7 separate regions of the Homo sapiens genome follow, and all the other regions are linked to region 1. The links are contacts of gene promoters, found by promoter capture Hi-C in blood cells and fetal thymus (Javierre and others, 2016). All regions are on one chromosome and are shown on one strand. Each heading gives the region's core, a stretch centred on a gene start or on the middle of the fragment in contact. The rest is flanking DNA. Distances are from core to core; before and after follow the strand shown. Region 1 holds the start of FICD (FIC domain protein adenylyltransferase). Region 2 overlaps UBE3B (ubiquitin protein ligase E3B). Region 3 has its middle 23 kb from the start of PWP1. Region 4 overlaps PRDM4 (PR/SET domain 4). Region 5 overlaps PRDM4 (PR/SET domain 4). Region 6 has its middle 120 kb from the start of ASCL4. Region 7 holds the start of ACACB (acetyl-CoA carboxylase beta).

The links. Contacts are between HindIII fragments. The CHiCAGO score rates a contact against its expected background, and 5 or more counts as called.
Region 2: a contact is called between a fragment that was not itself captured here and the fragment with the promoter of FICD in region 1, in 1 of 17 cell types (neutrophils). The highest score is 5.1, in neutrophils.
Region 3: a contact is called between a fragment that was not itself captured here and the fragment with the promoter of FICD in region 1, in 1 of 17 cell types (total B cells). The highest score is 6.1, in total B cells.
Region 4: a contact is called between a fragment that was not itself captured here and the fragment with the promoter of FICD in region 1, in 1 of 17 cell types (naive B cells). The highest score is 5.4, in naive B cells.
Region 5: a contact is called between a fragment that was not itself captured here and the fragment with the promoter of FICD in region 1, in 8 of 17 cell types (total CD4 T cells, naive CD4 T cells, naive CD8 T cells and 5 more). The highest score is 10.8, in total CD4 T cells.
Region 6: a fragment that was not itself captured here is called in contact with the fragment with the promoter of FICD in region 1 in 4 of 17 cell types (naive B cells, M1 macrophages, M2 macrophages and 1 more); the score reaches 7.3 in naive B cells.
Region 7: a contact is called between the fragment with the promoter of ACACB here and the fragment with the promoter of FICD in region 1, in 13 of 17 cell types (neutrophils, erythroblasts, total CD4 T cells and 10 more). The highest score is 14.5, in neutrophils.

Annotation. Positions count from the first base shown.
Region 1 is chr12:108,513,722-108,517,110 of GRCh38, reverse strand. It overlaps FICD (FIC domain protein adenylyltransferase), which reads right to left and starts at 1,834. Exons shown (of 3, transcript NM_007076.3): 1 at 1,750-1,834; 2 at 1-196. The coding sequence starts at 138. RefSeq lists enhancers at 112-211, 1-400, 2,303-2,362. The HindIII fragment of the contact is 9,938 bases long and covers 1-3,389 here.
Region 2 is chr12:109,478,711-109,482,099 of GRCh38, reverse strand. UBE3B (ubiquitin protein ligase E3B) reads right to left here. Exons shown (of 28, transcript NM_130466.4): 2 at 358-463. Among named protein-coding and RNA genes, the nearest start is that of UBE3B, 2.8 kb to the right of the region's middle. The HindIII fragment of the contact is 2,401 bases long and covers 453-2,853 here.
Region 3 is chr12:107,661,342-107,664,730 of GRCh38, reverse strand. No RefSeq gene overlaps it. Among named protein-coding and RNA genes, the nearest start is that of PWP1, 23 kb to the left of the region's middle. The HindIII fragment of the contact is 9,605 bases long and covers 1-3,389 here.
Region 4 is chr12:107,732,553-107,735,941 of GRCh38, reverse strand. PRDM4 (PR/SET domain 4) reads left to right here. Exons shown (of 12, transcript NM_012406.4): 12 at 1,420-3,071. The coding sequence ends at 1,732. Among named protein-coding and RNA genes, the nearest start is that of PRDM4-AS1, 2.3 kb to the left of the region's middle. The HindIII fragment of the contact is 3,900 bases long and covers 1-3,389 here.
Region 5 is chr12:107,751,156-107,754,544 of GRCh38, reverse strand. PRDM4 (PR/SET domain 4) reads left to right here. Exons shown (of 12, transcript NM_012406.4): 4 at 436-621; 5 at 2,336-3,130. All of the region lies in intron 3 of PRDM4-AS1 (PRDM4 antisense RNA 1), which reads right to left. Among named protein-coding and RNA genes, the nearest start is that of PRDM4, 8.3 kb to the left of the region's middle. The HindIII fragment of the contact is 3,807 bases long and covers 1-3,389 here.
Region 6 is chr12:107,889,386-107,892,774 of GRCh38, reverse strand. It overlaps the pseudogene LOC644746. Among named protein-coding and RNA genes, the nearest start is that of ASCL4, 120 kb to the right of the region's middle. The HindIII fragment of the contact is 1,242 bases long and covers 1,093-2,334 here.
Region 7 is chr12:109,114,831-109,118,219 of GRCh38, reverse strand. It overlaps ACACB (acetyl-CoA carboxylase beta), which reads right to left and starts at 1,633. Exons shown (of 53, transcript NM_001093.4): 1 at 1,516-1,633. The HindIII fragment of the contact is 11,769 bases long and covers 1-3,389 here.

The DNA.
Region 1 (3,389 bases), core at 585-3,084:
AGCCCCCAGCGGCAGCAGCAGGGCCAGCAGGGACCCCAGCACCATGCTCAGCAGCGTCACCCAGAGGAAGCGGCTCCAGACCGAGACCCATTTCGGTTCAGTCACCGCCATCACTGAAGCCATTGGTATGAGCATCATCTGGACTCAGGAGAGGGCCCTTTGCGCATGTCCACAGGCGGCTGAGAGAGAGCAGGATCTGCAAGGAGCCAAGAGTCGCAGGAGAAACAGACACGTTCAGGACATAGTGTGACTTCAGCTGGGAAGATGGGTTTGGAGACTTCTGCTCTTTTAGCTCACTAGAGAGATGGGGTGGGGGCAAGTCAAGGACTGGATCTCACTAGAGGAGGGGCCAGCCTAGAAGGACTGGTGCCACCTCCTGGGCAGTATGAATGTGAAAACACTGCTGTGGTCCAACAATTAATGAGCACTTGCCATAATCCAGGCCGTGTGCTAAGCACCAAATGCCTCACATGGGTCACCTCCTGCAATCTTCAACGACTTGAGCTGATGTTTTCACCCTTCTCCAGGTGAGGGAACTGAGGTTCAGAGAGGTGAAGTCCCTTGCCGAAAGTCTCGCCGGGAGCAAGTGACAGCCTTAGGACTTGAACTCAGGAACCCCACGGCTCTAAAGTGTCCCCCCTTCCCATATATCCCTGTGGCTTCTGACCACAAACACTGGATTTGTGGACATATGTCAAACATTTGGGACATAAATGACTGACAGACACCCAGGCAGATCAGCCACAGCAGTTCTGACGCCCAATCTTTGATAAGCACAATTGTTGGGTGGCCTCATTTATTGCCCTCACCCTGATATTCAGCCACAGCTCCCACAGTGCCCTTCCCCTCTCTGGCCTTCCATTTCTGGCCTGTCCAGAAGGGACCCCATCAAGAAGATGAGCAGTTCGAGCATCTCGAAAGGAACTCAGGCTGTGGGCCACAGTGCTTGGCCTCAGTGACAACATGGCTTGTATGTGCTTGGGGCTGGCAGTGGGAGTGGAGGTGGGGCCAGGCATGCAAACACTATGCTAACAATAAGCACTTATTAAGCAACTATGGTGTCCTAGGTGCTGAGCAGTGTACTGGCCACGCATTGCCTCGTTTCACCCTCATGCCACCCTATGAAGGAAGAGCTACCGCTAGCTCCATTTTACAGACAAGGGAAACCAAGACACAGAGAGCATAAGTTAAATTCCAGAAGGCCCACAGGAGGTAAACAGAGGCATCCGGAAGGAAACCCCAGGGCCTCTGAACCCGGTCCCCAGGTCTCGATTTCTACCTTATTACTAAGCAGGGCCTGTGCACCTGCTCTGGGCTGGTCCTGACCCGGGAATGACTGATGGATCACGGGGTTCTGAGTCTCATGGGGATCCTGGCCCATTGCCACAGAACATGTGAAATGGCTTGGGGTGCGCTTTAATAGGGGTGCGCCTGGAGTGCTGCGCGGGTCCAGGGGTCTGGGCGGGCTTCCCGAGGGGACAGGCTCCTGGGCGGGGCGGTACAGGAAAGGGGGCAGTTCGCCGGTGCCAGGGGTGTGTGCAGGGAAGGAGTGCGTTCTGGGAGGCGCGAATCTCTCCCCCACACTTCCCTAGAAAGGGAGAACTGAGGCCCGGAGAGGGGAGGGGACCGGTCTGAGTCCCCTCCAAGACTGCAGAGCCTCCCTTCCCGAACCCCGCCCAGGGCTCGCGGCCCCGTCGCACCCTTCCCGGCTTCATCCTCTCGAGCCCCTAGGGCTTTTCCCCTTCTCACCGCGCGCAGCTGTCAGAACCCCAACCGCCTTCCCCGCGCTCCCAGCTCCGGGCCGCCGGCTCCCGGGTCCTCCTTCTCCGCCGGCCTCTGGCCCCGCCCCCGGCGACTTGCCATTGAACCGCCCGCAGCCCTCGTCGCGGCGGATTGGCTTTCCCCACTTGTCCTTCCCTCGCATTTCCGGGTTCCCGCGTCCGCGTCGGCTTCCCCGGGAAAGACGCGCCGTGGGCCACTCCCATTGGTTGTTGCTTGCGTTTGTCTCGTTCACGTAGCAGCCAATAAGCAGCGGGAGGGGCGGGGCCTAGGCCACAGGCAGGAGGAGCAGGTGCTGGAAACCCGATGGGCGTGCGGATTTGGGGCACACTAGGTGGCGGGCCCGGAAACTGGAAGTTCCACGGCGGTCTTTTCCTCGGGTCTCTTCGTCCCGGAGCCGCTGTCGTGTGCCTCATTTTTCCCGGTTGTGAAATGAAGATGCTGATGCTTTTCACCCCTTCACCCGGTTAGCCTGCTTGACTGCGCAGCCCCTGTTCTTAGCCTCCACCCCATGCTGCTGAGTTTGCCGCCTTCTTCTTCTTTACTCTTTTCCTCTCTGTGTCTTTTCCTCCCTGACTTAAACAACTTTTTTTTTTCTTATAAAATACAGGGTCTCGTTGTGTCGCCCAGGCTGGAGTGCGGTGGAGCAATTGCAGCTCACTGCAGCCTCCACCTCCTGGGCTCAAGCAATCCTCCCATCTCAGCCTCCCGAGTAGCTGGGACTACAGGTGCATGCCACCATGCCCGGCGAATTTTCTTTTCTTTTCTTTTCTTTCTTTCTTTCTTTTTTTTTCTCTCTCTCTGTCTTGCTTTCTTTCTTTTTTTTTGAGACGGAATCGCACTCTGTTGCCCAGGCTGGAGGGAAGTGGCACGATCTTGGCCCACTGCAACCTCCGCCTCCCAGGTTGAAGCGATTCTCCTGCCTCAGCCTCCCGAGTAGCTGGGATTACAGGCGCGCATCACCACGCCCGCCTAATTTGTGTATTTTTAGTAGAGATGGGGTTTCACCACGTTGGCCAGGCTGGTCTCGAACTCCTGACCTCAGAAGATTCGCCTGCCTCGGCCTCCCAAAGTGCTGGGATTACAGGCGTGAGCCATCGCGCCCGACCTATTTCTGATTTTTTATTTTCTTTAGAGACCGGGTCTCACTATGTCGCCCGGGCTGGTCTCGAACTCTTGACCTTAAGCTCTCCCTCCATCTCGGCTTCCCAAAGCGCTAAGATTACAGGCGCAAGCCACCCCCTCGGTTCTCCCTGACTTTTTAATTTGTATCCTCTCCAGAAGGACCTGGCTAGTTCTTTTGGCTTCCCAGAGAGAAATTTTTTCCTTGAAGCAGAGAATGGAAACCTCCATCTTAATCCACAAATACTGAAATTAAACATCTAGGGAGGTGCCCCAGAAACGCTAAGCATTTAGAAGTTAGCAGTTCAGATTCTGGGGAGTCAAAGAGACCTGAGCTCAAATTCAGACTTTGCCATTTACTCTCCGTGTCACCTTGGGCACGTTACTCCTAGCCTCACTTTCCCCACTTGTAAAATGGGGACAAACAGCCTACCTTGCTTTTGGCATCCAGTTCAGGATTTGCAGAAGGCTTGATGCTTCAAGATCTG
Region 2 (3,389 bases), core at 404-2,903, 970 kb before region 1:
GTGTGCTCTATTATTAGTATTAATAAGGACAATAAAATAATACCCTTTTATAACCAAAAAAAAGTTGGTGCAAGCCTCCCACCACATGAACATATCAAGGGACCTCTGTGACCCCTTCTCAACAGTGATCTGTCAAACATCATCAGTAATCCTTGAAACAAACTAACAGAGCCCACTTGACCACAGGAGGGAAGGTATTAGGTTGGTACAAAAGTAATTGTGGGTTTCAACTTTTTTAAAAAAACACTAAGTCGTAATTACTTTTGCACCAACTTATAAAAGGCTTGGAGAGAAACGGTAGCCATCTTCTGAATCATTTACGCTTCCTGCCCCAGCAGTAAAGTCTGGAGATCTCACCTGAGGACCTGCCTGTGTCGCAGAAATGCCAGGTAATCATTAGTGATCTTGCACAGGACTCGTGGCTGAGAACAGCTTCTCACTTCAGAAAAGCTTGTTATTTTTTCTGGCAGAAGCAGAAGAAAAAAATCCAGACTTAGGGTTAAATTTTATAGGTGTGGTATCATACATCTTCCTCACTGAGTAAAAGTAGTAACTACAATGCCAATGGTTTTTTAAAAACACCACTGGGTCCTCTTTATTTAATGTCTCATCTAAATGTTATACTGTATCTCTTCAATCCTCACAGTTTAAAGGGAATATGTTGAAAATAAATCCCAAAGTTGTTGTTGAATTACAGCTGTGATGGGAAGCAAAATAACTTAGAGGTCATGGAATGTTAAAGAGCTACTGAAAATTATATTTGACATTTTCCTTTTTTTTTTTTTTGAGATAGTCTCACTCTGTCGCTGAGGTTGGAGTGCAGCGGCATAATTTCAGCTCACTATAACTTCTGCTCCCAGGTTCAAGCGATTCTCCTGCTTCAGCCTCCCAAGTAGCTGGGATTACAGGTGTGTGCCACCATACCCTATCTCAGTTGGGGTTACAGGTGTGAGCCACTGTGCCCGGCCATGTTTGACATTTTTTTTTTTTTTTTTGAGACGGAGTCTTGCTCTGTCGCCCAGGCTGGAGTGCAGTGGCGCGATATTGGCTCACTGCAAGCTCCGCCTCCCGGGTTCATGCCATTCTCCTGCCTCAGCGTGTTTGACATTTTTAATGATAATGGAAAAACGTTTATGCCTTAGAAGTGAATAAAGGGCTGCCTGTGGACCAATAAGACCCCAATTACCTAAAGAAAAATGTACACACACACAGATACAAAACTAGCATGAACTATACCAACATGTTACCAGTGGCTGTTTTGAGGTACTGAAATTGCGGGAAATTTTTCTTAATTGGTCTGTATTTTCTAAATTTTCCACAGCATGCACATGGTGAAGCAGCACTGCACAGTGAGGGGCACACGGGCTTTGGGAGTCACACAGAGTTGGAGCCAGTCCCTAGCTCTGCCACATACTATAGGGAGAATGTCTAAGTCTTTTTTTTTTTTTTAAGGCAGGGTCTCGCTCTGTCATCCAAGCTGGAGTGCAGTGGTGCAATCATGGTTCATTGCAGCTTCTACCTCCCAGGCTCAAGCGATTCTCCCACCTCAGCTTCTCAAGTAGCTGGGACCACAGGTACATACCACCACATCTGGCTAGTTTTTAAATTTTTTGTAGAGGTGGGGTCTCGCTATATTGCCCAGGTTGGTGGTCTCAAACTCCTGGGCTCAAGAGATCCTCCTGCCTTGGCCTCCCAAAATGTTAGGATTACAGGTATGAGCCACCACACTGGGCCCTGAGTCTTTCCATCTTCATCTATTAATTGGCTTAGAGGTTGATAATGAGGACTAAATGTGATGATGCTTATCAGGTACCTATGGAGGTACTTGAGTGCACATTGTAGAGTGTATAGTCAGGAAGTCTAACTGGTGTATTATTTTTATAGACACAAGGATTAAAAAAAAAAAAAAACTCTTCAGCAGAGGCTCCCACCTGGACAGTTACTAAGGTTCTCTGGGTAGGAAATAATGCTGGCAGTCTGACATTTCTCACCCATTAACTTTTTTCCTATCTTAAATGCACTAAGATTCACCAGTCCTGTCCCTTGGGCTATGAACTCCTGGCCCTGTTGTTTAGAGTGAGTAACAGATTCAAGCTCCTCAGGACTGCAAAAGAGCAGGGCCCAAGCCACAAGCACAATGATATGCTCCCTCCATGACATGCAGACAGTGCCTCAATGGCAGAGGGTCCATGGAATTAGAAGGGGAAGAGGGAGCCTCTTCCCAAAAGAAAAACAAAGTTGCATGCAAACTGTACCTAAGCACTGTAAGACGATCTTAAAACTTTCACTTCTCCCAGGGGCCCTCCCAGAATAAGAAATTACTCTTATCCCCTTCCTTGAGATTATTATCCCTTCAGCAATGTTATTGGTTGATTTCTGTTCATATCATATAATAGCCTACACTTTACAGTTTTTCTCATCCTTTCCTATATACCTTCTCCACCTGCACAGTGTATACTATAGTTCGTCAATTAATAAAACACACAATCAAGTGTTTATTAAGTACTTATTTTGCTAAATGCCATGGAGAACCAAAGAAAAGGCTGTGCGCAGCAGAAAAAGTCTTGCATCAGAGAAAGCGGGCCTTGGTTCTTTTTAGTACTCCTTCTATCCGACATTTGGCCAAGTTACTTATCCTCTCTAGGCCTCAGTTTCCTTATGTGTAAATCGAGGGTAATAATAGTGTCTATGTCCTAGGGTTGCTGAAAGGATTAAATGCAACATTTATCCTTCTTGTACCTCAATTTAGTCATCACAACATTGTGATTAGGATTAAATGGGAAAATATTAATATAGGATATCTAAAAGCATGTAGCATGTAAGTGAGCTTTATTGTATTGTCCTTAAGAAGCTTGCAATCTAGTTAGGGAAACAAGAATCATATAGGTAGAAAGATTAGAAAATAAGAGGTTGGTGATAACCAAGATCATTTAAAAAAGTAAATGAGTGCCCATTATGTGTCAAGTCCTTTATAAGTGATCTCATCTAATAAGGAGAGGAGTCCTATGAGAAGATCATTCATGATCTCATCTACTCCAGTCTAGACCATTAGTATGTGGCAGAGTCAAGGCTGTAATAACTAAGAGGCAGGATTCAGACTCTTGTCTTACCTCTATATTTCCAAAGCTGAAGCATCATAAATACCAACTGCTGACTAAGCCAAGAGGATTGTCCCTGTGCAGTAGGAAAAGCTGGGCCACCAGGTTTAATGACCACCACCACTTGTTCTGGGCAGACGGTGTATCAGACACTGCACAGATTATTTAACCAACTTGTCTTTTCAACAGCTCTATCAGTTCTCGATAATCTTTGTTTTTTTGAGACGGAGTCTCACTTTGTTGCCCAGGCTGGAGTGCAGCGGCGCGAACTCTGCTCACTGCAACCTCCGC
Region 3 (3,389 bases), core at 407-2,906, 850 kb after region 1:
TTAGAAACAATGAATTTCAAGCCCCACCCCAGCCCCATGGAGTCATTTTAACAAATTCGAGAAGCACTGCCCTACACCATCAGTGAGATGTCTAGAAGTCATCAATTACAGAAAGACCTAGTTTGGGAGCAGCCTGGACAACATAGTATGACCTAATCTCTACAAAAAATAAAAAAATTAGCCAGGCGTGGAGGCTTCCACCTGTGGCTACTCTGGAGGCTGAGGTTGGAGGATAGCTTGAGCCTGGGGAGGTTGAGGCTGCAGTGAGCCGTGACCACGCCACTGTAATCCAGCCTGGGTGACAGAGAAAGCCCCTGTCTCTCTCTGGTTAAAAGGTGACAGGATACCGGGGAATGCTACTCATCAATGAAAAGGAACAAGCATTCCATACGTGCAGGCTCCTTGGATGGGTCTCTGAGGCATTCTGCTGGGTGCAAAAAGCCAGTCTCGCCGTTTGAGGTGCTAACACCCGTAATCCCAGCATTTTGGGAGGCTGAGGCAGACAGATTGCTTGAGCTCGGGAGTTTGAGACCAGTCCTGGCAACATAGCGAGACCCTGTCTCTACAGAAAATTTTTTTAAAAAGTGATCTGGTAGTGGTGGTGCATGCCTGTTGTCCCGCTACTCAGGATACTGAGGTGGGAGGATTGCTTGAGCCCAGGAGTTTGACACCAGCCTGGGCAACATGGTAAAATCCCTATCTCTACAAAAATAAATAAATAAATAAATAAAAATTAGCTGGGCATGGTGGCTCATGTCTGTGGTTCCAGCTACTTGGGAGACTGAGTCGGGAGGATTCTTGAGCCTGGGAGGCGGAGGTTGCAGTGAGTTGAAATCACACCACTGCACTCCAGCCTGCGCGACAGAATGAAACCGTGTGTCAATAATAATAATAATAATAAAAACACCAATCTCCAAAGGCTGCTTACTATATGGTCTCATTTACATAACATTCTTGAAATAACAAAACTATAGAGATGGAAAACAGATTAATGGTTGCCAGGGGTTTGGGATGAAGTTGGTGGAGGAAGGGCCAGAGTGATTCCAAAGGGGTAGCATGAGGGAGATCTTTGCGGTGAGGGAAGAGTGACAGTGGTGGTGGTTACACGAATCCACACGTGGCAAGATGTCACAGAACCATACACACACATTGTAGCGATGTCAACTTCCTGGTTTGGATATTGTACTAAATTTATCTAAGATGTTACCATTGGGTTACTCTGTACTATCTTTGCAACTTCCTGCGAATCTGTAATTGTTTCAAAATAAAAAGTGAAAAAAAAAAACCCCAAACCAAAAAGGAGATGGTAGTCATGTAGCAATGATCTAGAGAGATGCCATCTTCATGGTGAGATAGGTGAAGCCTCATTCTAACGCTTTTATCTGGTTTCCTGCTGGGAGCCTGTTTTGCTGAAGGCATCATTGTGAAATGATGAAAAAGGTCCCTTTTGCTAAATCCTCCTGGATGCAATCTGGAATGTTCTATTACACAAAATGATGTTCTCACAAGGTTCTAATATAGGAGTGTGGTAAGGAGAGTGTGACAGGTTCCAGTCTAGGCCCACAGGACATCAAGTCAGAAGGAGTTGAGGAAACAGGTCCAGATGGAGAAGAGGCCTGGCCAAGGTCACCCAGGTAGCAGATGACAGATTCAGGGTCAGGGGTGAGATGTGGTGCCCAGCACAGAGCCCCTCCATTGTACCAATCAGCCTCTTCCCTTTGTAGCTCTTCATCCCAGAGGTTTTCCGTAGCATTAAAATTCAGAACTCATCTGAAGGTTAGCTCTGAAAAGCAACATCCAAAGAACGCACCAATGACATCAGGGCATGTCTTCTAATTGCCTATTCACGCAGACAGATTGTCTTTTCAGATTCAGGGCTAAACTTGGAGATGTGTCCTTTCACAGGGCACTCGTTATCTGCCTGCCTCATCAGTGATGGGAACTAAAGCGCAATGTGATTGCTGAGTATGAGTTCTATTTTTTTCTGCCAAGCAGGAAGTTCAAAATCTGTTGGGTTATTTTTAAAGAGGGTGGAAAAAATAGGCATCATAGCAGCTTCTGCAATGGCCCCGGCCAAAGGCACGTGCTGCTTTATTCAAGGCATTGGCTAGGCTGGGAGGAACAGAGGTGACGTGAAGTTCCACCAGGGAGGTTTCTTGGTGGAGGGGTGGGGGATGAGTGTCCACACACTCAAGTGGCAGCACAGGGCATATGGGTTTGCCTACTAACTTGATGAGGACAGCAGTCCCAGATTTTTCTGGAGGGATATCTAGCAGTTTGTTTCATTTGGGGGTTTGTGGCTACCCTCTCCCTCTCCACAGAGCTGTGGTCCTCAAGCCCTGGACTGAGAGTTGGCTCTGGCGGGCGTGGGCCCTGCTCAGCCATTTGTGGGGTCTTGGACCTTAGACACACACCATGGGAGTCTCGTGTCATCCAAGTCACACATGTGAATCTCACATTCCTGTGTAGACAAGAAATTTGGAAGAGTGAATCCCTGCAACTCTAATCTTTTGAAAATATGATGTTTATAAGAAAGGAAATCCAGGTGTACTTGGCTTCCATTTGCAAACATTTCTTGATTACTTTGTGTGAAGCACTGTGCTAGGAACTAGAATCACAAAAGAGCTCAGTTTGGGGGGAATTTCCCTATACTCCTCGGAATAAGTAGCAAAACCCTAGAGAATCACAAATCACCATGGGAACCGCTGCTGTAGAAAGTTCTAGAAATGAAGGCAAAGTCATTAGCCTTCCTTTCCTTGTATGAATCATCAATTTCCCCTTCCTTCTGCTCAGTCTTAGAAGTTTAGAAAAGCCTTTTCCCTGCTACTAACAGTGTGGGACTCGTACAAAATATCTCCTTTAATCCTCCCAACACCACTATTCACTAGTTATAGGTTTTTGTTTTTTGTTTTTTTTCCTTTTTGAGACGGAGTCTTGCTCTGTTGCCCAGGCTGGAGTGCAGTGGCACAATCTTGGTTCACTGCAACCTCTGCCTCCCAGGTTCAACCGATTCTCCTGCCTCAGCCTCCTGAGTAGCTGGGATTGCAGGTGCCTGCCACCACGCCCCGTTAATTTTTGTATTTTTTAGTAGAGATGGGGTTTTGCCATGTTGGCCAGGCTGGTCTTGAACTGCTGATCTCAAGTGATCTGCCCACCTTGGCCTCCCAAAGTGTTGAGATTACAGGCGTGAGCCACAGCGGCCGGCCACTAGTTATAGTTAAACCCATTTTTTTTTTTTTGAAAGAGGAAGGTGAATACTAGATAGAGTAAGTAACTTGTCCAAAGTCTCAAAGCTAGTCAGGGGTTGGATCCAGTTGGAACAGGGTTTTCACGTCTGTGCTGGAGTCCAGGGCTCAGCAATCAGTGCTGCCAACAGAAGGTGCGCAATA
Region 4 (3,389 bases), core at 435-2,934, 780 kb after region 1:
GGGTTCTTCAGTGCCATCTGTTGCTAGAAGAGGATGAGAGAAATGCTAAGGAAGCCAGGCTTCAGAACGCCCGACTGCACCCTCTCACTCCTTCCAGGATTTTATTAATAACCTGCTTTAACTGTTTCATATTGGGCTTTCATAAAGACATGGGGTTCAGCTACTCAAAAAAAAAAAAAAAGCTAAAAAATTCCTGGTCTGTGTGATCTCTAAGGTTCTTTTCAGCTCTGAAATGTCTAGGCCAGGGTTACTCAAACCTTGACATTATTGACATTTTGACCGGGTTAATTTTTTGTTGTGGGGCTGCCCTGTGCATTGTAGAATGGTTAGCAGCATCCTTGGCCTTTTCCTACTAGATACTAATTATACCACCCCTCCCCAGTATAACAATCAGAAAGGACTCCAGACATTGCCAAATGTCCCCATAGAGGCAGTCGCCCCTACTTGAGAACCACTAGTCTAAGAAAAGGACAGAAAAATGGTAATTCCATAAAAGTGGCATCCAGGGAATACAAATAACGGTGTAATGAGATACCATTATGTACTGGCTAATTGGCAGACATTTTCAAATTTGAGTCTTCCAGTTGAGAATATGGGACAACCAGAACCGTCAATGATGGATGTGTATATTGAAACAACTACATTGGAAAACCGTTTGTCATTATCTTGTAAAGTTGAAGATGTGCATATCCTTTGATTTAGCTATATAGTTCTTGGGTATGTGCCCTAGAGAAACATGTATTGCAGAGCACCATACAAGTATAAAAATGTTCAAATGCCAGGTACAGTGGCATGCACCTGTAGTCCCAGGTACTTGGGAGGCTGAGGCGGACAGATCACTTGAGCCCAGGAGTTCAAGGCTGTAGTGCATGATGATCACACCTGTGAATAGCCATTGCACTCCAGTCTGGGCAACATGGTGGGACCCTGTCTCTAAAAAATAATAATAAAAATTTAAAAAAATTTAAAAACGTTCTAGCACTTTTGCTTGTGATAATAAAAAACTGGAAACCACCAAAACATTCATTAGCTAGAGACAAATCCAGTACCATAGATAAGTTGTGGTGTATTTGTATATTTGTAAATAGTATACAGCAGTGGAAGGGAACAAACAACTGATACAGCAGCTTGAATGAATTTTATGAGCATCATACTGAGAGAATGCAGCAAGACAAAAGAAATACATATAGAATTTACATAGAATTTGAGAATTTACATAGTATTCTAAAACAGGAAAAATGAGCCTACACTGTTTTAAACTATACATGTTTTATGAGTCTTCTGTATATCACCTATGCAAAAGCCTGATTCAGAAGGATAGAGCTGCTCTGACAAAGGCCTGCGGCTATGAAGAATAAGTGTTGCCTCAGTTGTTATTTGTAACCCCAAATCAAATGTTTTTTCTTGTGTTCCTCTTAGAGAACGCCAGATCAAGTGTCCCAAGTGTGATAAGCTGTTCTTGAGAACAAATCACTTAAAGAAGCATCTCAATTCTCATGAAGGAAAACGGGATTATGTCTGTGAAAAATGTACAAAGGCTTATCTAACCAAATACCATCTCACCCGCCACCTGAAAACCTGCAAAGGGCCCACCTCCAGTTCGTCAGCACCAGAGGAGGAAGAAGAGGATGACTCAGAAGAGGAAGATCTAGCAGACTCTGTGGGGACAGAAGACTGTAGGATTAACAGTGCTGTGTATTCAGCGGATGAGTCTCTTTCTGCACATAAATAAAAGGAAAAGAAACAAGCAATTTTGGATGAAAATGCAAATGGAAAAATACACATAACCAGTTATCTACTATAATGGTTTTTATATAAAATGGTTCCTGATTTATTTTCAGCCAGTAATCAAAACAGACTGGGAATGAATAAAGCACTTACAGAAGAGTATCCTAATGAAAACACTTTAAAACAGATTGGGAAAACTGAGCATGTGTCCTGTTTTAAGTGGTGGACTGGGAGGGAAGTGTCAACTTCTGAGGTCTTTATTTACATGATAATCTGGGAGATGCATTTATGCCTGAATCAAAGCTGCCTTCTGCTCAAACAAATCAGATTTATTTCACATTCTTCCATTATTCCATTTTCCTGCTGGTCCTGTGACTTGGTAACATTCTAAACGGTCCTTGCCCCATAGCCATCCTGATTGCTGATAGTGTTTTATGCAGACTCTTGTGACTTATACTCACCACAGAATGGATTGGGACACAGCAGCATAAGTGTGCTACTTGGCAGCTAGTAAGTTTAAAGCAGGACCTGCCTTAACTGCTCCTGGCCACTTGGAAGTTTAGGGTAGATCTTGTTTTCCAAAGTTTCGGCAGGTGCCTGGAGGGCAAATAAAAAAGCAGCAGTCAGTCAGTAGTCAGTGATGGAGAGAACAAGAGGAGAGATGCCTGGCCTCTGCCCAAGAAATTAGCTTTGATGGAAGCCTGAGCAAGTCACCTGGTTATTGTAACGTGGAGATCTTTGTAGGTTTAGACATGGCTCCCTGTCTCCAGTAAACATCCAGCCATTCAGACAAAGGGGGCCTGGAGATACAGAGAGCCCAAATAATGCCTGCTGGATTGTCTCCTGATGAGTACATGTGGACTCACCTGAGGAAGGGAAGGAAGGGAATAATCTTTTATGTTTCATTTACCTTATGAAAAGTGTTAAAACATTGCCAACTCAAAATAACATTATTTAATGCATGTGCAAAGTTAGGTCTTCCCAGTTGTCTCAGTGCTGAGGAACCTCATCAGAGAAGCATGGAAGATGCCAAAGGATTTTTGGAAGGTAAAGAAGGCTGAATAGTGACCACATGGGCCTGTTTTCAGGGTCCCAGCTTAGTTAAGTCACCCATGCACCTGGTCATTGTGTCTCCCATGCACATCCAGCGTTTCTCAGAAGCAGACCCACCCTTAAGTTGACAGGATTGATGGAACATGCTCTCCTGCTCAAGGCACAACCTCTGGGCTGGAGTAGAGGACTCTGGTGGGAAGGTTTTGCTGCTAATGTATTTATGGAATGAATGTATTTCATTCAAATCTGTATTCCTCTAGGAAGGATTAAAATTAAACTTTTTTAAAATACAGGATTCCTCTGGTAGTCTCATTTCATGGAGGAAGGAGATGAGTGAGTCTTCTAGGGAAAGTCAAGTACAATTTGAATCTTTCTGAGGTTAGAAGAAGAGAGCATTTCTAGAGTATTTTAGCTTTTGAGATCATATTCTTATTGTTTCTGCTGTTAGTACTTAAGACAAACTGCTTCCTGTGCTTCCAACCCTCTTCTGCCCTGTTCCTGCCTAAGGTATGCCTTTACTCTGTTACCTCCTTGGAGAAATGTGGCAGGTCTGCAGTGGAGGGTTGGGGGATGTGTTGCGGATGGTTAGGGTTGGCTGCTGACACTGG
Region 5 (3,389 bases), core at 246-2,745, 760 kb after region 1:
TGGGTGTGGTGGTGTGTGCCTGTAATCCCAGCTACTCAGGAGGCTGAGGTAGGAGAATTGCTTGAACCCAGGAGGCCGAGATTGCAGTGAGCTGAGATCACACCACTGCACTCCAGCCTGGGCAACAAAGCAAGACTCCGTCTCAAATCAATCGATAAATTAATTAATTAAATATTTTTGTATTTAAGCGCAATACAGACAATTGGAGTATCAACTTGCCGGTTTAGAACTAACTTAAAAACTATCTTTGGGACTAAGACTACTTTCTTTAGGCTTATTTGTGGATATTTGCACATTATCTAAGGATGAAAAGGGCTAGTAGGTGAGATTTTTGCCCATGTGTAAAAACCTTTCTAAGAGTTTAGCCAGTGGTTGTAGTGAGAATTTTTAATTACCTATTTTCTTTTAACTGAGAAAAAAAATTTTGTTTTGTAGGCCTCCCAGTGGCAATTCCAAACCTGGGTCCCTCCCTGAGCTCTCTGCCTTCTGCTCTGTCTTTAATGCTACCAATGGGTATTGGGGATCGAGGGGTGATGTGTGGGTTACCTGAAAGAAACTACACCCTACCTCCACCACCTTACCCTCACCTGGAGAGCAGTTATTTCAGAACCATTCTACCTGGTAAGTGTTACAGTTACTTGAGATGTTAGAGAAAAAGAACGGCGCCAGCTTTTAAACTTTTATCCTGAAGATATGAATAACACTTTTTTCTGTTTGTCACTATTAGATATTAATCTCTAGGCAGGAAAAGTATCTTTGTTTATATTTATGTACTTTTCCTCTTAGAATGTGGCACATAACACATTAGTAATACAGTTTGACTAAGCTGAATTTCTTAATTGCACATAATTTTTCTTCTTTCTCCTCCAGTATCTCTTTCATTTGGTGTTTATAATTCTACAGCTATAATTTCAGTCAAGCACTATAGTGTCTTGTTATAGTGTCATGTTTTTTAAGTTCATTGAATTTTTATTCTGTTATAGGAGTATTATATGCTTATTGCGGAAAATTTAGCAAATAAGGGAAGGAACCACTCAGTCCCATCATCCATCTTTTTGGTGTACTTCCTTCCTGCCATTTGTTTTGGTGTATAGGTTTTTACCAATTTTCATAATTAAGACCACGGTTTCTTCTCTTGCTCTCTTTTTTCTTTTCTTTTTTTTTTTTTTCTTTTAATGGAGACGGAGTCTCAACTATTTTGCCCAGGCTGGACTGGAACTCCTGGACTCCAGTGATTCTCTCACCTCAGACTCTTGAGTAGCTTGGAATACAGGCACATGCCTGCCTTGAGACCATACCATATTTCATTTCTTTTTTATAAATAACTTTTTTAAAAAAAGAGATGGGGTTTTGGCATGTTGCCGAGGCTGGTCTCGAACTCCTGCGCTGAAGCCATCCGCCCACGTCAGCATCCCAAAGTGCCGGGATTACAGGCATGAGCCACTGTGCCCTGCCCAAGACCATACTTTCTATACGATTGTCTGTCTTTACTTTTTTCACTTTATCTTTTTCTCTGCTGTTACATGGGTATTTTCCTTTGCTGCTACGTGGTTTTCATAATTATCCTTTTTAATGATGCATTACTTTCTACTGAATGGGTATTTGATGGTTTATTATCTTTATTGTTGGACAGTTTGGTTTTTCCAGTTTTTATTACCATTGTAACTAATGCTCTTATGAACGTCTTTATGTATAATATTTACAAAATGGATTTAGAGAAGAGTACCTTAAGTGGAATTTCTTGTGCAAGAGGGTATTAACATTTTTGAGGCTCCTAATATATATGCTTCACAAAGAAGTTTTAGCAGTTTACATTCCCTCTGGCAGTTTAGTAAGTATCATTTCACCATATCCTCCCAAGCACAAGTGTTAATTTTTTTTTGTTTTAATAAAACAGGTACAATTGTGACTTGTATTAAATAGTTTGTGTTATGATAGTTTAATTATATTAAATTATATTTAATTAAGTTTTATTTTTCACATGGAAGATCTGTTTTTAAATCATTTTACCTTTTAATAATTAGGAGAGCAAATTTTACACCTTAGGACTCAGGAATTGCAACCATATGTATATTAAAAGCAGTGTTTTCGTTAGTGATTCCCAGTTAGCTTCAAAGGAACATAGTTAACTTTTTTAGGATTTTCGAGTTTTACAGGAAAAACTCAATTACGGTATATGTATGTTGCTATTTATAAAATAGTGTGTATCGATTAAATTAAAGAAGCAGGAGATTATTTGAACTTAGTTATGTTTGTAAGGAAATAGCGTCTAGTGCTTGGAATTCTTTAATAATGTACTAAAAGTCTCTGATATCTCATCTTTTCCTTTTCTCAGGCATTTTATCTTATTTAGCTGACAGACCACCTCCACAGTACATCCACCCTAACTCTATAAATGTTGATGGTAATACAGCATTATCTATCACCAATAACCCTTCAGCACTAGATCCCTATCAGTCCAATGGAAATGTTGGATTAGAACCAGGCATTGTTTCAATAGACTCTCGCTCTGTGAACACACATGGTGCCCAAAGTCTTCATCCCAGTGATGGCCATGAGGTGGCCTTGGACACAGCAATCACTATGGAGAACGTTTCTAGGGTTACCAGCCCAATTTCGACAGATGGAATGGCAGAGGAGCTTACGATGGACGGTGTTGCAGGCGAGCATTCCCAAATCCCAAATGGCTCCAGAAGTCATGAACCTCTGTCTGTGGATTCTGTGAGCAACAACCTTGCAGCAGACGCTGTAGGACATGGTGGTGTGATACCCATGCATGGGAATGGCCTGGAGCTCCCTGTGGTCATGGAGACAGACCACATTGCAAGTCGGGTCAATGGCATGTCTGACAGTGCCCTCAGTGACTCCATTCACACTGTGGCCATGAGCACCAACTCTGTAAGCGTGGCACTCTCTACCTCACACAACCTTGCCTCCCTAGAATCTGTTTCCCTCCATGAAGTTGGCCTCAGCCTAGAACCTGTGGCTGTCTCCTCCATCACCCAGGAGGTTGCTATGGGGACAGGTCATGTAGATGTATCTTCAGACAGTCTTTCTTTTGTATCACCTTCACTGCAAATGGAAGACTCCAATTCAAACAAGGAGAACATGGCAACCTTGTTTACAATTTGTGAGTGTGTTTAGCCTTTCTTTTTTGGAAATATTTGTAAAAAGGGCCACCATCCCTAACAAGTTAAGTCGTAAAGTTTGGCATTAAGGGAGTATAGAAAGCAACTAGACCTTGGAACTTTTCTTTGCCTTGGTATTGTCCTTTATATTAATGTGGTGCCTTTTCTTCAAGTAAGCCAAATGATATACATACATTTAGTTGGTTCTTAGAGCATCCTCCTGAAGAAATGAAATGTGAAGTAGTCATTTTTGTATTTTGC
Region 6 (3,389 bases), core at 464-2,963, 620 kb after region 1:
ATCCTGGTTAACATGCTGAAACCCTGTCTCTAATAAAAATACAAAAAATTAGCTGGGCGTGGTGGCAGGTGCCTGTACTCCTAGCTACTCAGGAGGCTGAGGCAGAAGAATGGCGTGAACCCAGGAGGTGGAGCTTGCGGTGAGCCGAGATCACGCCACTGTACTCCAGCCTGGGTGACAGAGCAAGACTCCGTCTCAAAAAGAAAAAAAAGAAAAAAAAAAAAAGAAAATCACATTCGAATATCACCTCCTCCCTCAAGTATTGCCTTATTTCCCAAGATTGGCTAGTTATTTCCTCCTTTTTGTTCCTTTTAGTGTACTTTTGTAGAGGCTAATAATAATCATAAGATAGGTTATGGAAATAATTACAATATCTACTCAGAACGGAATGCTTTTTTATGGCCCAAGTACTGTGCTGTTACAGCAACACTATTGTGTCATCCTTTCATTGACCCTCTGAAAGAGATACAATTATTCTCCCTATTTAGTAGATGAGGAAATTAGGGCTGTGATTGGTGCAAAGTCATCCATACAGCAAGTGTCAGAGCCTGAATCAACATGAAGTTGTCTGACCCCAGAGCCTGTGTGCGTAGCCATAGCAGATGCTGCCTCCTGTTGGTCATTTGTCATTAATCTATGCATGCATTTCTTTTGGCTGTCCCTTCATCAAAGGATTCGCAAGGGCACAGGGATGCTTTTGTCCACCTTTAGTGGATTCTGACCAAGAGTTTTCCAAATGAAATGCCCATCTGATGCTCACGCCAGCCATGGACAAGAGATTGGTTGTTCCCCAGCCTCTCCATCAATTGGTATTTTCTGACTTTTAAATTTTAGCCATGCTTGGAGATGTGTAAAAAGCACATGGAAAGTCCAGATGCTTTGGGGAAGCACACAGATTCTGAGAGTCTGGAGGCAACACAAAGAACAAACTGATTGTCTTAGCTCATTCACGCTGCTTTAACAAGAGACCATATAGTTAGTGGCTTATAAACAACAAAAACGTATTTCTCATAGTTCCGGAGGCTGGGAAGTCCAAGATCAAGGCACTGACAGATTTAGTGTCCAGTGAGGACATCTATGAACCGAGAAGCTTGTTAGGTATGGTGCCTTCTCTTTGTGTCCTCACATAGGGGAAGGGGTGAGAGAGCTCTCTGGGGTCTTTTTTATAAGGGCACTAATCCCATTCATAAGATGACCCTTATGATCCAATCACCTACCAAAGGCCCCTCCTCCTAAAACCATCACACGGGAGGGAGGCTTTCAACGTATAAATTTTGGGGGGACACAAACATTCAGTCTATAGCCCTGTGTCTTCTATAATCTTTTTCCACTGGCATATACTAAAACTATAAAATTTATGGTTTTATCATTACAGTATAGTAATTTTTTTGTTAATTAAAAGACATAAGCAAAGTTTGGTTTTGTTGTTACATAGAATAATTAGTTTTAGGGGAAAAAGAAAAGAGCTCCAGGTCACTGTCCATTTATAATGTGCAGATCTCCTGACTGGAACCTACTGAGGGTTGGGGTGGGGAGGCAAAGTCACCTCTGCCACCCCTGTGTCATCAGACCTTCTGCTTTTCTCAGGGTCCAGGTGCATGGGACTCTGCCTTTACATCCTGGAGGCCTAGAGACCTCCCCTTTCCACCGCATCTGTTTCACTAGTCAAGTGAATGCCTGGGCTAATTTGCTCCTATAGGACATTTATAGACACTCTCTGCTGAAAACAACAGCCTCAGTGGAGAGCAGCAGACAGCCCTCAGTGTCCTGTGGACCTGACTTGAATCAATATTCTCTGTGTTCTTTTAATATGCAGAATCTCCTAGTAAAGGTGAACTCAATTAATGAATGACATACAGAGTTTCATTTTATTTTGTTTTTATTGATGCATAATGTACATAGTTTCAGAGTACATGTGATAATTTCACACATTCATATAATTTGTAAACATCGATCAGTATACTTGGGATATCCATCACCTTAAATATTTGTCTTTTCTTTATACTAGAACCATTTGAATTCTCTCTTCCAGCTATTTTTAAATGTATAATAGACTATCGCAAACTATAGTCACTCTATTGATCTATCTAATACTAGGTCTTATTTCTTCTGTAAAACCATGTTATTTGTTTATAGCCAATAATTACTGAGCCCACAACGGGGCTTTTTTTCCTGTTGCCTCTGTTCCATGTGCAACTGTCAACATATGGTTCACTCGCGGGGCCAAAACAGAGCTCACTGGGAAAACTCTTGGTCTAAATAACTTTATGGATGAATGAGAATTAAGCCATGGGCCTGTCCAGCTTTTCCTTTCCAGACAGAGAAAAAGAAGCTTTGAATGCTCTAGGGAAGGCCAAACCAGAGGCAAGAATAACAAATTCTTGACTTTTCTGTGGATACAGAGAAAATATGTGAGACTAGATATAAACAGGGTGTTATATAAATTAGGCAAAAATGGGCCCTGTATTGTACATCCAATGGAATAAAACTAGAAATCAACAGCAGAAGGAAAAATGGAAAATTCACAAATATGTGGAAATTAACACATTCTAAAGTGACTAATGGGCCAAAAAAGAATTTATAAGAAAAATTAGGCTGGACATGGTGGCTCACACCTGTAATCCCAGTACTTTGGGAGGCTGAGGAGGGCGGATCACGAGGTCAAGACATCAAGACCCTCCTGGCCAACATGGTGAAACCCCATCTCTACTAAAAATACAAAAAGTAGCCAGGTGTGGTGGTGCACACCTGTAGTCCCAGCTACTCAGGAGGCTGAGGCAGGAGAATCGCTTGAACCCAGGAGGCGGAGGTTGCAGTGAGCCAAGATCATACCACTGCACTCCAGCCTGGCAACAGAGTGAGACTCCGTCTCAAAAAAAAACAAAAAACAAAAAACAAAAGATATGGGATCCATCACTAAGGTAACAACAAGTAATGTTTGTAATGCCAGTATCCAGCAAAATCCCTGCTTTATGTAACCAGGGATTCACCCACAGTGCATTCAGAAGCACAGTGCTGGCTGAGAAGCACCTTCCCTTTCTCAAACTCAGTGTCCAGAATTCAAGTTCTGTAGACAGTTTGATCTCTCCTCGCTGGTGAACAGATTCTTTGCAAGCTCCTAGGTCTGATTCTGTGCTTGTTCCCAAATCTTCCTCCTAATAATAGCAACTGGAAGTGAACTGAGGGGAGCCCAAACTCTGAAGGTAAATCTCAGCATGTTCTTTCAGCTTCTGTTCCATATGCCCACATTGGACACTCTGCAGGTCATCAGAAATGACAAGGAGCTCATCAGCTGTGTCAACATCCAAGGTCATATCTACTGTGAAAGAAAAAAATCAGCCTCTCAGCAAGTGGGCAGTACACGTATTGCATTCAAACCCAATGCAGCC
Region 7 (3,389 bases), core at 384-2,883, 600 kb before region 1:
GAGCTTCTGAAAGAAAGTTACAGATTAGAGATATTTTCATCTCTAAATCACATGAATTAGGATTGGCTGGGTCTTTCCACTTAAAACTTGGAGAAGTCATAAAAAGAAATCTTGTAAAGAACTCCATGTCACTATTAGCAGAAACATGCAATTTATAAAATGATATCTTTGGCCAGGCGCGGTGGCTCATGCCTGTAATCCCAGCACTCTGGGAGGCCGAGGCGGGCGGATCACTTGAGGTCAGGAGATCGAGACCATCCTGGCTAACACAGTGAAACCCTGTCTCTACTAAAAATACAAAAAAAATTAGCCGGGCGTGGTAGTGGGTGCCTGTAGTCCCAGCTACTTGGGAGGCTGAGGCAGGAGAATGGCGTGAACCCAGGAGGCGGAGCTTGCAGTGAGCACTCCATCTCAAATAATAATGATAATAATAATATCTTCACCTTTCAGTTTTTAAATTGCAAGTCCCATGTCCCGGGAATTCCCCGGTCCTGGGCAAAGTGGGATGGTTGGTCACCCAACCTATATGGATGCCCATTGATATTAAAAAATAAAAGTAATCACAATAGACATGAGGGAGAGAGTTGTGTACAGTGTGAGTGTACAGAATAAAAGGTCTGGGGGGTTTATACCAAAATGTGCACAGTGGCTACCTGGAGGAGGAGGGTTAGACAGGAATAACAGCAAGGAGACTTTTGCACGGTGCTGAGTGACTTTTTAACTTGCATATTATTTTGGAATGCATTTTTTCAACATTGAAAGAAAGTCATGTCTTCCTAGAAATATAGGATATAGGACCACTACAAACGCTTTACTCTTAGTCTCCTTTTTTTCTTTTTCTTTTCTTTTTTTTTTTTTTTGAGACAGAGTCTTGCTCTGTCAGTCAGGCTGGAATGCAGTGGCGCAATTTTAGCTCACTGCAACCCCCACCTCCTGGGTTCAAGCGATTCTCCTGCCTCAGCCTCCCAAGTAGCTGGGATTACAGGTGCCCATCACCACATCTGGCTAATTTTTATGTGTTTAGTACAGATGGGGTTTCGCCATGTTGGCCAGGCTGGTCTCGAACTCCTGACCTCAAGTGATCCACCTGCCTCTGCCTCCCAAGGTGCTGGGTGGCATGAGCCACCGTGCCCAGCCTTAGTCTGCTTTAAAAAAAAAAAAAAAAAAAAAAAGAACAACCATTTGAGGAAACAGAAACAGAATACTATTCCTTAAGACAGTAGCTTTGGAGGCAAAAAACAGAATTGTTTATAAAACGTTGTGGAACTTATATGGGAGCATGTCCAGGGATCCACACCACCATTTATAGAAGCAAAGAAAGGCCCTTCTCTTTCATCTGCGTTACATTTCGAGCTCTTCTGATTAGCTTCCTTCAAACATGACGGGAGTCGTTTTTCCCCGGGGACCCCAAGTGCATGCCTTCAGACAGGGTCTGCTCTCACTATACATTGGGTTCGAATTTACCTGGACGTTGGCAGAATGGTCCGGACCCCGGGGAGGGGCGAGCTGACTTACCACTTTATTCCTGCCGCTTTTCTCTTGCCATGTCCTCCCCACCGTGCATTCAGGGTTACATTTTCCAGGTTCCTTGTTTGCTGAGGGCCTGAATCTAAGCCTGCTAGCTGCTTACTCTGGGGACTGCAAATGTCACTTTTAGATTAATCAGCCCCTGCTGTTTAAAAATATCCCTGGAGCACTTAACCTTCAAAGCAGCAACAACCCGGGGCAAAGATGAGAAAGATCCCACGTCAAACCACTTGTGCAGCCCTGGCTACTCCTGGGAGAGTTCTGCTATCTGCCTTTTAATCCCATAACTCGCTTTATTTCATAATTCTTAGCTGTTGAAGCCATGAGGCATCTAAAGTCCATGTTGTCGTAAGCAGTAGGCAGAAAGTCATCTGGGCCCTCCTGTGACATGCTGAAAATTAACTGCCTACAGGTGTTGGTCATTTGAGAAACAAGCCCCCATTGAAAACCGTGAATGGGAAGGTGATCGCTATCAGGTCACCTGGCTTCTCTCCCCTGAAAAGATTTGGCGAAACCCTCTCAAATCACGCCACTTAATGGAATGTTTCCAATTTCTTGTGACTTGGGGATAAAAGAAAAAAACAGCTCCATTGCCACATTCTCATTCAGGGTTGACTGGCTCTTGCTAGGGTTGAGCACAGAAGAGGAAATTCAGCACACGCTGCAGTTACATAGTGTTCTGCAACGTGGGGAGGGCTGGCATGTGGGACAAAGGTCGCCTCCAAGGCCCAGCTGGAGAAGCCCAGCCAACTAGGCAGCAGGAAAGTGGAGACCACATAGGAGCACATTGTGCTCAGGCAACAGGGAAGGTGGAACCCACTTCCTGCCAACAATGATGGCCTTACTAAACAGCAAGTGGAGAAACTGGCGAGAGCGCTGAGCACGGGATCTGTGCAAAATGGTTTAAATGGAAATTGCTGCTGGGGCTGGTGCAGCCTGTTCACAGCTACTTTGTTTCTGGGCTTATTTTGCAATAAGGAACAGTCATTGAATATTGGACTTCTTGGGATTTTCTCCACTGGACTTGGAAGCATGTGCTCTGGAAACCTCAGCATTATCAGCTGTAACCCCACAGCACCAGGTACATGTTACAGGAACCGGGGTGAAGGAATGCAGGTCAAATGCCTGCACAATGCCCGGCCCGAGTCATATGTTCTCTAGCCACAGTAGCCCTTGTGATGGCTCTTAGTCTATTTATTAAGACAATAAAAGAGGTGACTCTCAAACAAACCTATGTTTCCAGGGAGAGCCATCTGTGATTCAAGGACATTTTTATAAAATTCCATTGAAAAAAATTCTTAGGCTTCTAACTTCATGAAAAAAAAATTCTTTCCCAGTGATTCCAAATAATCATGATCTAGGCAGGGTGTTGACAGTGGCAGGACTATTAGGCTTTGAAATCAAGCTGATGTGGGTTTGAATCCTCCCTCCATTAGCCATGACTTTGAGCAAATGGCTGAGCTTCAGTGTCCTCATCAACTACTTCACCATATGGGTGAGAAAATGAAATGATTTATATTGAGTTTCTGGCACAGGGGCTTGCTCATGACAAGCACTTAATATCTTTCTAATGAAATTCATTACTTGCAAAAAGACTAGACATACCCACACATACAGGTGAAGAACTCTGCAGTGATTCAGTTCTCCCTAGACACTATCTCTTTAAGACACAGGTATTTTCCAGAATATAATTGGAAGGCTTGAAACCAAAGTTATTCATAAACTCTTTCCATCAAACACAAGAACGGTAATAGAAATATATTTCTTCAAACAGCTGTTAGTTTCAGAAAGTCACAGGTATCAAGTTACATTTTTTGTTTTGTTTTGTTTTGTTTTAGAAATAGGATCTTGCTCTGTTGCCC